2 separate regions of the Homo sapiens genome follow, and region 2 is linked to region 1. Evidence: promoter capture Hi-C in human tissues and cell types (Jung and others, 2019). All regions are on one chromosome and are shown on one strand. The core of a region is centred on a gene start or on the middle of the fragment in contact, and the rest is flanking DNA. Distances in the headings are between cores, read along the strand shown.

What was found. The method cuts DNA at HindIII sites, captures the fragments that hold promoters and counts their contacts. A contact is called where the count stands out against the background at its distance.
Region 2: a fragment that was not itself captured here is called in contact with the fragment with the promoter of TOMM20L in region 1 in 2 of the 25 tissues and cell types used here (aorta and bladder).

What each region holds. Positions count from the first base shown.
Region 1 is chr14:58,393,888-58,398,828 of GRCh38, reverse strand. It overlaps TOMM20L (translocase of outer mitochondrial membrane 20 like), which reads right to left and starts at 2,899. Exons shown (of 5, transcript NM_207377.3): 1 at 2,736-2,899; 2 at 2,488-2,531. The coding sequence starts at 2,871. It overlaps TOMM20L-DT (TOMM20L divergent transcript), which reads left to right and starts at 3,124. Exons shown (of 2, transcript NR_187161.1): 1 at 3,124-3,528. RefSeq lists silencers at 2,452-2,501, 2,572-3,091. The HindIII fragment of the contact is 11,412 bases long and covers 1-4,941 here.
Region 2 is chr14:58,328,981-58,333,921 of GRCh38, reverse strand. It overlaps ARID4A (AT-rich interaction domain 4A), which reads right to left. Exons shown (of 24, transcript NM_002892.4): 10 at 4,318-4,394; 11 at 3,753-3,919. Among named protein-coding and RNA genes, the nearest start is that of ARID4A, 33 kb to the right of the region's middle. RefSeq lists an enhancer at 2,482-2,531. The HindIII fragment of the contact is 5,123 bases long and covers 1-4,663 here.

The DNA.
Region 1 (4,941 bases), core at 1,650-4,149:
TCACTTGAAATAATTTATTATTTCATATATGGGAAATAATATTAACAATTTATTATTAATAATTATTGATTTATATCAATAAATGATAGTGTGACTTAGTTATGGCTTAATATGAATATAATTAGATTATATTATAATTAAAATATGATTAATTTATATTAATATAAATCATTTATTATTTCCCATATGAACTGCCATTGACTGATTTTCTTGTCTTCAACTTCCTTTCTCCACACTGGAACCAGAATTGTCTTATTTAAAAAATAAAACCAAAATAATTGTGTCTGTTCTCTGAAATAAAGTCACCATCATTAGTTATCCACCACAACAGAAAAATGTCCTGACTTTTCAGTTTGGCATTCAAAGTCCTCCACGGTAAGACACTAAACTGACCCTCAGCTATCTCTCTGGCCATAATACTCCTTGAACATTACAATTTCATGTTCTGTGCCTCTGCACAAGGTGTTTCCCTCTGCCTACAATGAACAACAATATTCAACAAACATTTGCTGGGCACCTACCGCACTAGACTCTGTTCTAGGCACTGGAAACAATGGAGAGTAAAAAACAAAGTCTGCCCTCACACAGCTTAGTGTAATAAACGGAAAGCATTAATCAAATAATTACACAAATGTGCAAGTGAAACCATGGACAATGACGAGGGACATGGAGCTGTATCAGGCTCTGTCTCAGTCAAGTCAGGGAAGGTATCTCCACTCCCATGTCCAGCTCTTTGGACACTCCCTACCCAGCTAACTATGTCAAATGGGCTTTTATTCTCTACTGTGATTCCATTTTGAAACCCCGGAAGTGTCTTTGACTCCGCCTCTCCATTACCCTTTACTCAGTCGGCATGAACTGTATTCTTCCCAGTTACCACTACCACCACCATAGTTCAGGATTTTTATTACCTCTCAACTAAATTGCTGCAATAGCTTGTTTTCTTTTCCAATCCATTAAGTACACTCCTGCTTGATCAATCTAAGAATATTTCTCTTCTGCCTTTCTTTCCTTCTTTTTAAAAAATTCCTGCTTAGAAATCTTCAGTAATTCCTCCATTGAATCTCAGTTCCTTAACCTGGCCTTCAAAGCAAGCCTTCCCTAATTCAATCCTACTTTCGCTCTCCAACCTTACCACCCACTATTCCTCAGTATGACTCCTTTGCCAAACTGGTTTACTGAATGTGCTTGGCAGATGCCCCACTTTGCATCTTTATGCACATGCTGTTCCCTCCATCCTGTATCCTCTCCCCTGAAACCAAGCCACAAATTCATCATCCTTCCAGGCTCAGTTCAATGCCACTTCCGCTACAAAGTCTTCTCCGGAAAAACTGCATGTTTCAAAAATGGCTACCGCAATATTCCCGGTCACACAAGTGCTTTCAAAACCTTGCCATCCCTGTTGAGAGGTAGAATCTATTTCCTCTCCCTTTAAATTGAGTAGGCTTCAATGTTGCCAGAAGTGGTACCATCTGCTCTTCCACATGGGCACATGTTCTAGTTCACATGCATGTGCGTGCTCTCTCTATACACAGACACACACACACACACATATATATACACACATACATATATGTGTTTGCTTGTCCCTTGGGACACAGCCCATCACACAAATGAAGAATCCCAGATCACACAGACGTGTAGGTGCTCTGGCTAACAATCTCAGCTAAGTAAACATCCAGCATCAACTGCGGATTGCTTGTGGCCAGGAGTTCTAGTTCAGCCTGGGCAACATAGGAACACCCTTGTCTCTTTCTTTTTTTATAGACAGTGTCTTGCTCTGTCGCCCAGGCTGCAACTGCCACCTCCCGGACTCAAGCAATTCTCCTGCCTCAGTCTCCCAAGTAGCTGAGACTACAGGCACACGCCACCACTCCCGGCTAATTTTTGTATTTTTAGTAGAGACAGGCTTTCACCATGTTGGCCAGGCTGGTCTCAAACTCCTGACCTCACGTGATCTGCCCGCCTTGCCTCCCAAAGTGCTGGGATTACAGGCGTGAGCCACCAAGCCCGGCCCGCCTCTTAAAAACAACAAAAAAGGGACTAATCAAATTTTGCCGCAGAGATTTACAAAACACGAAGATGCCTTCTGCTTCTGAGCTACAAGAAAGGCCCTGCGGGAGAACAATCTAGAAGTTACTGCCATGTGACCGTGGCCAGCCTGGGTTTTTAAGTGTCCTGTGCGGCTCTGACAGGGCAAAAGGCTCCTCTTCCTTCTTCCAGTTAAAAGAAGTGCCTGTTGTACAGTGTTTTGCTTTGCAGCTGCCTTTTTATAACTCCAACTTCTTCCTCCTTCCTTCCCTCCCTTTTGTGAGAGGAGAGTGACTGGGCCTGAGGCGGTGCGTGGCGCGCGAGGGCAGGCCTCTTCCCGGGCACGGGCGGCTGAGGGAACTAACTACCTGCTGCCGAGCCCGCCAGGAGCCAAGCAACCCAGCGAGCCCGGACCTGCGTCTACTGAGCTACCTGTGCGGATCGAAAGCACTGCACCTGCGTGCCCTGCTCCTCAGCCTTTTGAGGCTCTGCTCTTCTTTCTGCGAACACAACACGGCACATGCTGGCTGGGAGGCCCGTCCAGAGGCACGCGTGGGCCCAGTGGTCCTGCCTGCCCGGGCGCCGCGGGCCCCTCGGCAGAGGCTGAGGCACTCACGGCCCGGCCTCTCAGTGGGGGGCCCTCCCGGCCGGCAGCCCGCCCGCGCTGCCCGGCCCGGCCGCGCCTCCGCCTCGGTCCCACTCACTGTCCCGCAGGCGGCGCTTGAACGCGGGGTCCCCGCGCCGCTTCCGGTTGAGGTAAATACAATAGCCCAGGAAGGCGAAGGCGCCACAGGCCGCCGCGGCGGCCAAGAGGCGGAGGAGGGAGCGGACGGAGGGCATCCGACCGCGGGCGTCCCACAAGCCGAGCGTTGGGCGCGGGCCGGCCGGCAGGGGGCGTCGGCGCGGCGGCCCATCCGGCCTCGGGGCCTCCTGCGCACCCAGCTGCGCGTTGACGCCTCGCACCCAGGCTTGCGGACCGATGAGGAAGCCGAGCGTTCGAGAGGGTGTGTGCGGGAGCCCTCACAGCCACAGAGTAGCAGAGCTCTGTTCGAACCTACGTCTGTCGCACTCCAAATTCTGAACCCTTTCTCCAAACACGCCTCTGCCCCTGTGTCTACAACACCCATTCAGGCAAAGCACAGTATGCTGCGAATCTGCTTTACTGGGAGCCAGTGGTCGTTTAGGTCTCTGTTCCCTCACCTGCAAAATTAAGTTGACTCTAAGGTCAACTTTGGTCACCTCCTAGTTCACATTGTCTAACAGTAGCCCGTACTCCCCAATCTGGTATCCTTTGTCTCCTGAAAGGACCCAGCAGTCCAAGGTCCAAGGGAGGAATTCAGAAGCAACACTGTTTAATCTAGAAAAATACGTTAAATTGCTGGGCTGAGACTGACAGTCAAAGGTCCCAAAGCAAAAACAACTGAGAGTCCCATGATACTGGCCTAGCTGCTTTTCTAATATTTGCCTTACTCAGCGGACACAGCAGAAAGAAAGAAGGTAAGACTTTGTCCTAAATACCAGAGTTCTGACTTTTCTACTAAGGAGGAGAAAAGGCATAAGCTAGGGACCTAAAGAACTAGATAATTCATTTTTATTTAGGTTATACAATTGCTATTTACTGATTTACAATTTACTGTTATTACTAGTGTGTGCATAGCAAGGTGCTCATCACTGCTCTGAATACCAGTGGGTCTAGCTAGGTGCAGTGGCTCACAACTGAAATCCCAACACTTTGGGAGGCTGAGGTGGGAGGATCACTTGAGCTCAGGACTTGGAGACCAACCAGCCTGGGCAACATTGCAAGAACCCATCTCTAAAAAAACAAAACAAGGGCCGGGCACAATGGCTCATGCCTGTAATCCCAGCACTTTGGGAGGCCGAGGCAGGCAGATCACAAGGTCAAGAGTTCGAGACCAGCCTGGCCAACATGGTGAAACACTGTCTCTACTAAGAATACAAAAATTAGCTGGGTGTGGTGGCATGTGCCTGTAATCCGTTACTTGGGAGGCTGAGACAGGAGAACTGCTTGAATCCGGGAGGCGGAGGTTGCAGTGAGCTGAGATTGTGTCACTGTACTCCAGCATGGGCAACAGAGCAAGACTCCGTCTCGATAAAACAAAACAAAAAAATACTGGTCGTGGTGTGCACCTGTAGCCCTAGCTACTCTGCAGGGATCACTTGAGCCTAGGAGTTGGAGGCTGCAGTGAGCTCTGATCACTGCCACTGCACTCCTGCCTGGGTGACAGAATGAGACCCTGTCTCTATAAAAATACATAGGTGGCTGGGCGTGTTGGCTCACGCCTGTAATTCCAGCACTGGGAGACCGAGGTGGGTGGATCACCTGAGGTCAGGAGTTTGAGACCAGCCTGGCCAACATGGTGAAACCTCATCTCTACTTAAAATACAAAAATTAGCTGGGCATGGTGGCACAAGCCTGTAATCCCAGCTACTTGGGAGGCTGAGTCACGAGAATTGCTTCAACCCAGGAGGCGGGGAGGTTGCAGTGAACTGAGATCAATCACACCACTGCACTCCAGCCTGGGCAACAGAGTGCGACTCTGTCTCAAAAAAAAAAAAAAAAAAATATATATATATATATATATATATATATATATAGAGATAGATAGGTAAATTATAAATTAGTAGATAGATTAAAAAACCAATGGGTCTGAGTAGTAGCCTCAGCCCTCAAAATTTAAGAGTTAGCAGGGGTAAGTTACATATCATGCTTTCTTGAGTACTGTATGTTTTTTCTCATGATAATTGTCTTCTAGAAGGGAACTTGGTTATTGTGAAAACCTGATTGTAAACACAGAGGAGAGGATAGTGTCAGCATCTTGTAAGTATTACTGGTGATCAGGGACTGGTTCAGAATCTTGGCAAGGGTTTAGCCCAGCTTCAATTGATCTT
Region 2 (4,941 bases), core at 853-3,352, 64 kb after region 1:
AATGCTTCATTGGCAACTTAAGTTATTAGATATACTTAAAATATTAACATTACATTTAAAATATTCTTTAAATTCCACCAATTTAGCATGGATTTCCTAAGTTATCCAGCATTTACTGTAAGTTTATACCTAAAGTAATCTTGAATGACCACCAACAAATGCCTTTACAATCTACAAGGCATAAATATGCACAAATAATATGATTTAAACATCAAAAATAATATTCATGTTTCCATGAGTAAACAAACTCAAGTACTTATGATTTTTTACAATACTGGAATATAATCTTAGGCATTAATGTATCAGTGGTCCCTAAACAATTCCCAGTATTACAGAAATGGCAGTAGTTATTTAAAAATTCACTGAATTCAAATTTTCATTACTAAATAGGAAATTTTTAAAAGGGCCCAACCTATAAGCCTACTTATTATAAGCCAAAATGATTTTAAAAGCTAACACTGGTCACATTCCCCTTAATACTCAAGTTTTCTAAACAACCATCCATTTATTTTACCCTTAGAAAACTCTCCTATATTTATCCAAAGTAAATATAAATCAGGAATAAATGAATAATTGATATGATTACTTATGTTTACATGGACTTTTTGATCAATTTCAAAGGTGAAAAATCCAGTAATATCTTTTCTAATACAAAATTTTCTTAACAAAAACATTTAAGTAATACCCATAAAAATATCCCCCAGGGATTTTTTCAATATAATTATTGAGTTCAAGTTTAAAGTAATCAATATAGATAAAACCTACTTTCTGTCAGATCCTCAATCTTTTCCCACACAGTAACAGCATGAGATCTATATCTTGTACTCAAATCCTGAACTACCAATACTTAGGAATTCAAATTAATATTAAGTGGAAAAGGTGCTCTTTCATGTAAAGTCACAGAATCTCAAATCTCCTTATTAAGGCTAGTTAAGATACCCAAAGCATCAAATATAAAAACAATGTTCACTGCCCATTAACACTGCAGAAGTATCTAACACTTGTATGATTCTACTGCATAAAATTTGCTTGCTATACTAAAAACAACAAATAACAGACTAGAGTATTGTTATAGTGGTTTAGAGAACCTTACAAAAGATCTTTTTGATTATTGTAATGCAACATTGAATCTTCACGAAAAGCATAGCATCGTTACATTTTGGGAAGACTCTGATCTGTAATGTAATAAAACAGCGTAGCCTCACCTACATGGTGATAAAGGCCCATAATGACTAAGCCAGGTAGGCCATGGCTTATCAGATTTTTATTCATTTTACATCATAGTCATTCCCCTCCTCTTTGTTGTATATAAAGTGCTTTTCAGTTTATCAGTATATTACACTTTTAAAAAATAACTGTTCAAGAGAAGTTACAATGATTCAGCAACTAAATCTTAAACCCAAGAGCAAGAAATGCAGCTGATTTTTTTCTAAAGCAACAAAATTTCACTCAAGAAAATCTTCCTGTATGGCCAGAGAAAAAGAATTAGTTTAATAATTCAATAAAACATATGCTATGAAATTGACCATCCGAAAAATAAATAATCATATGAATCAGTGCCTAAATTCTGTAATTTTGCTGTTATTTTCCAGTAGATGAAAAGCATCCTGATTCACTTAATTTTAACAGGCTCATAATTTAGGTGACACATTTTAAGATACTATCCTTGTAAGCTTCCTTATCTTTAAAAATTTATTTACTATTACCTGCAAACAATAGGTAACAGAGCTTTGCCTCTGCTCTTCATTCTTTTATACTAACGTATACTCACAGCTTGAATAAAACATTACAATATTTATGAAATTAATCATTGTAATAAGAGCACTACTTACAATTTACTATTTTATAATCTCCCTCTGCCACTTCCTACAAAGCTCTTTTTACCCTCTTTGTTTAAAATTTCAGGGTTTTTTGGGGGGGGGGGGGTAGGGAAAATGCATTCTGGAACGGACAGCAATTAAAAGTATTAGCAAAAATAAAGGGACTAATCTTTCTTCAATATTGGACAATATAAGATCCTAAGGTTAATTTAAAAAACAAAAGCTAAATCACAGATTTGCAACAGTTCACACCCTGAAAATGTGGCCTAATTAGCCTGAAAACATATAATCTATAAATAAATACAGATAAAATACAAAAATCACATTTAATATTCTGACTTTAAATCCTGAATTTTGCCAAACTGTCTCATTATCATTTTCATTTCAGAATCTATCTTGTTTCAGAAAAATAGCCTTCATCCATTGATATTCTAAAAATAGACTCCTACTGTCTTTTTTACAAGAAAGAATATCGCTTGGTTCTGAGTCCTTCCCTATCAGCTACATCATCAATACCTAAAATTCTTATTTAATCCCGTTTTTGGCAATCAAAATGGTAACTAAACACACAAAAAAATCTTACCTATATGCTGCATTTTCTTTCAAATGCAAAGTGGTTAGATTCCCCTTCTACTTAATCAGTACAGGGTCTGGACATTTTTCAGTCTGACTTGCAAATATTTGCTTTCCCTCTTAGGGCATAGCATCCGCAGGGTTATACAGCACTACTTACATTCTCTTCCACATAAAAATCAGACATTACATGAAAGGAAAAGAAAGACAGCCCATTTCAAAGCATCTGGCAAACCTCCATTGGCAAACTGCCAAGCCTCTGCTAAACCTTCCTGTCTTTCCGAGCATGCTCACTTAAAACCAACAGCACGTTACTATGGCAACTCTGTAGGCAGCCTGTAAGTATGAACCGCCATTCTGATTTCAGAGTGTAAAAAAACCAAATACTGCAGGGGAAGTAAAAGGAAAGAAATAGCGTATGCCCTTCATTACATATGACTATACTCGTTTCATTTCATAAATTCATATTTGTGTATTTAAAACAGAAACAAGAATCCCACATTTTTCCAGGCCAATATTTTTCATGCTCAAATAGGTCCCCCTTTTCAGTAAATTCATTGTCTTTGTCTTGCCCCTAAACCCTTTTACCCCGTAACAACCAAAAATGTACTAGACAGTTTATCCCATTTGATACAACACTGCAGAATAAACAACAGTATTCATATAAGCAATCATGAAGTACTCCATGGATGATTTCCTACAATTATATGCATATTATAAATGACATGGCAATATTATAAAGAAAACCATTAGCACTTAGAACATATAATCTAAATATTTTCTATGATTTATCAAATTGCCAAATGAAATTTTCTTTGGGGTTTGGATAGGATTTTTTTTAACCTTAATTATCCTTGAAATATTGTGAAATGTCTGAAAGAGGTTTTAAAGTTGAGACAGGCCAGACCTGAGTACAAATCCCTCTTCTACCCATTTTAGTTGTGCCAGCTTGGGAAAGTTACTTAACTTTTCTGAATCTCCCTTTCCTTACCTTTAAAGTAGGATAACAACAGTTACTTCATATGGTAGTAGTTTAAATGAGTTACACATATAAAATACCTAAAAATTACATTTTTTTCCCTCCTGGGTTGTTTTGGAAAAGACCCCAAAAAAACCAGTTTGCACTTGTTGATTAACTAACCTGAAAAGTATTTTCTTGTAATCTCTTACTAAGAATTAGTTCTGATTTACACACTATGCTATGAGCCAAAATGCTTCCTCAACACCCAAATTAAGCAATGCTAGAAACGGACAGAAACAAATAATAGAGAATCTAAACAGAGGGAAAAATATATGAAGGTATTATTTTCACTAGAGAGTATTAAGATGTTTTTGTTACAAACATGAAATTACACCTACCACCTCTTCTTCTGTCTTTTTGGCCTCCTTTTCCTTCTCTTCATCATTTTCTTCAGCTGGGCCATCTTCATCATCACTACTGGATGACTCAAGGATTTCACTTATATCCATTTTCCAATTATCAGGAACAACTCTAGTTTTTAAGAAGATGCTTGCTTTCTGAAGCCCTAAGAGTGAAAATGTACTTCAGCAGTTGCTATGGAATTGGCAGCATAGAACAATAGAAAAGGCATGGCATTCAGAATCAAAGATCTGAATTCAAATTCGGCTGTCATTTATAAAATGATACAGTAAGCTTTAACATATTTCATAAGTTATAATGTTATATAAACATTTGTTATTACTTTACGGAATACTGTGAGACAATGGTAAAATACGAAAAGTTAAACTTATCTAATCACAAATCAAATATTGTATCTAGACATTAAAAAAAAATCAAGTAAGAGTGGATATCAACTCTAAACAGTTAAAATGGTGGTACCAGAGAGTATCAGTCTTGCTTTATTTGCTATTTTCCAAATAGAGCCACAACATAAAATAATAGGGTAATTCATCTTTATTTTACCTGGTTTAGTGGAGAGCTCAGATTCCGGTAGATTGAGAATGTCTACTTCCTTAATGTCCTTTCTTGCTATAGAGTAACTAATTATCAAGAAGAAGGGGAGGAAAACAATTTATTCAATAAAAATTATCACTTAAATAGTTCATGTTAACACATAGAAAAATAAAAACCTCAAAATCAAAATATTGTCTATAAAATGTTTTTATCTTAGTCCTTAACAAAAGGTAAGAAGAGGAAATACGGGCAAAGTTAGTTATCTTAATTCTGAAGTTGTATATACTCAAAGTACATTGAGAGCCTCACATTCACAATATTTCAATCTATACAATCCTCCTACAGATAGTACGGGGTAATTCATATCAGCATGATGTTTTCAACACTTGTAGACAACAATGTCTATTTTATTATTTGTGAAATTTATTTTTCATTTTAGTAAAAAAGCACATTTACTAGACAGTAATATTGAAATATTTTTATCACTATAAAATATATTATGGCATTAAATTTTTCACAGAGAACTATAACTCAAAAAACTTTTTTAATTTCACTGTTTTGATCACAAAGCAGAGATGAGGTTAGGAAAAAGTTTCTGTAAGTCTGGATTTTTTTTTTTTTTGAGACAGAGTC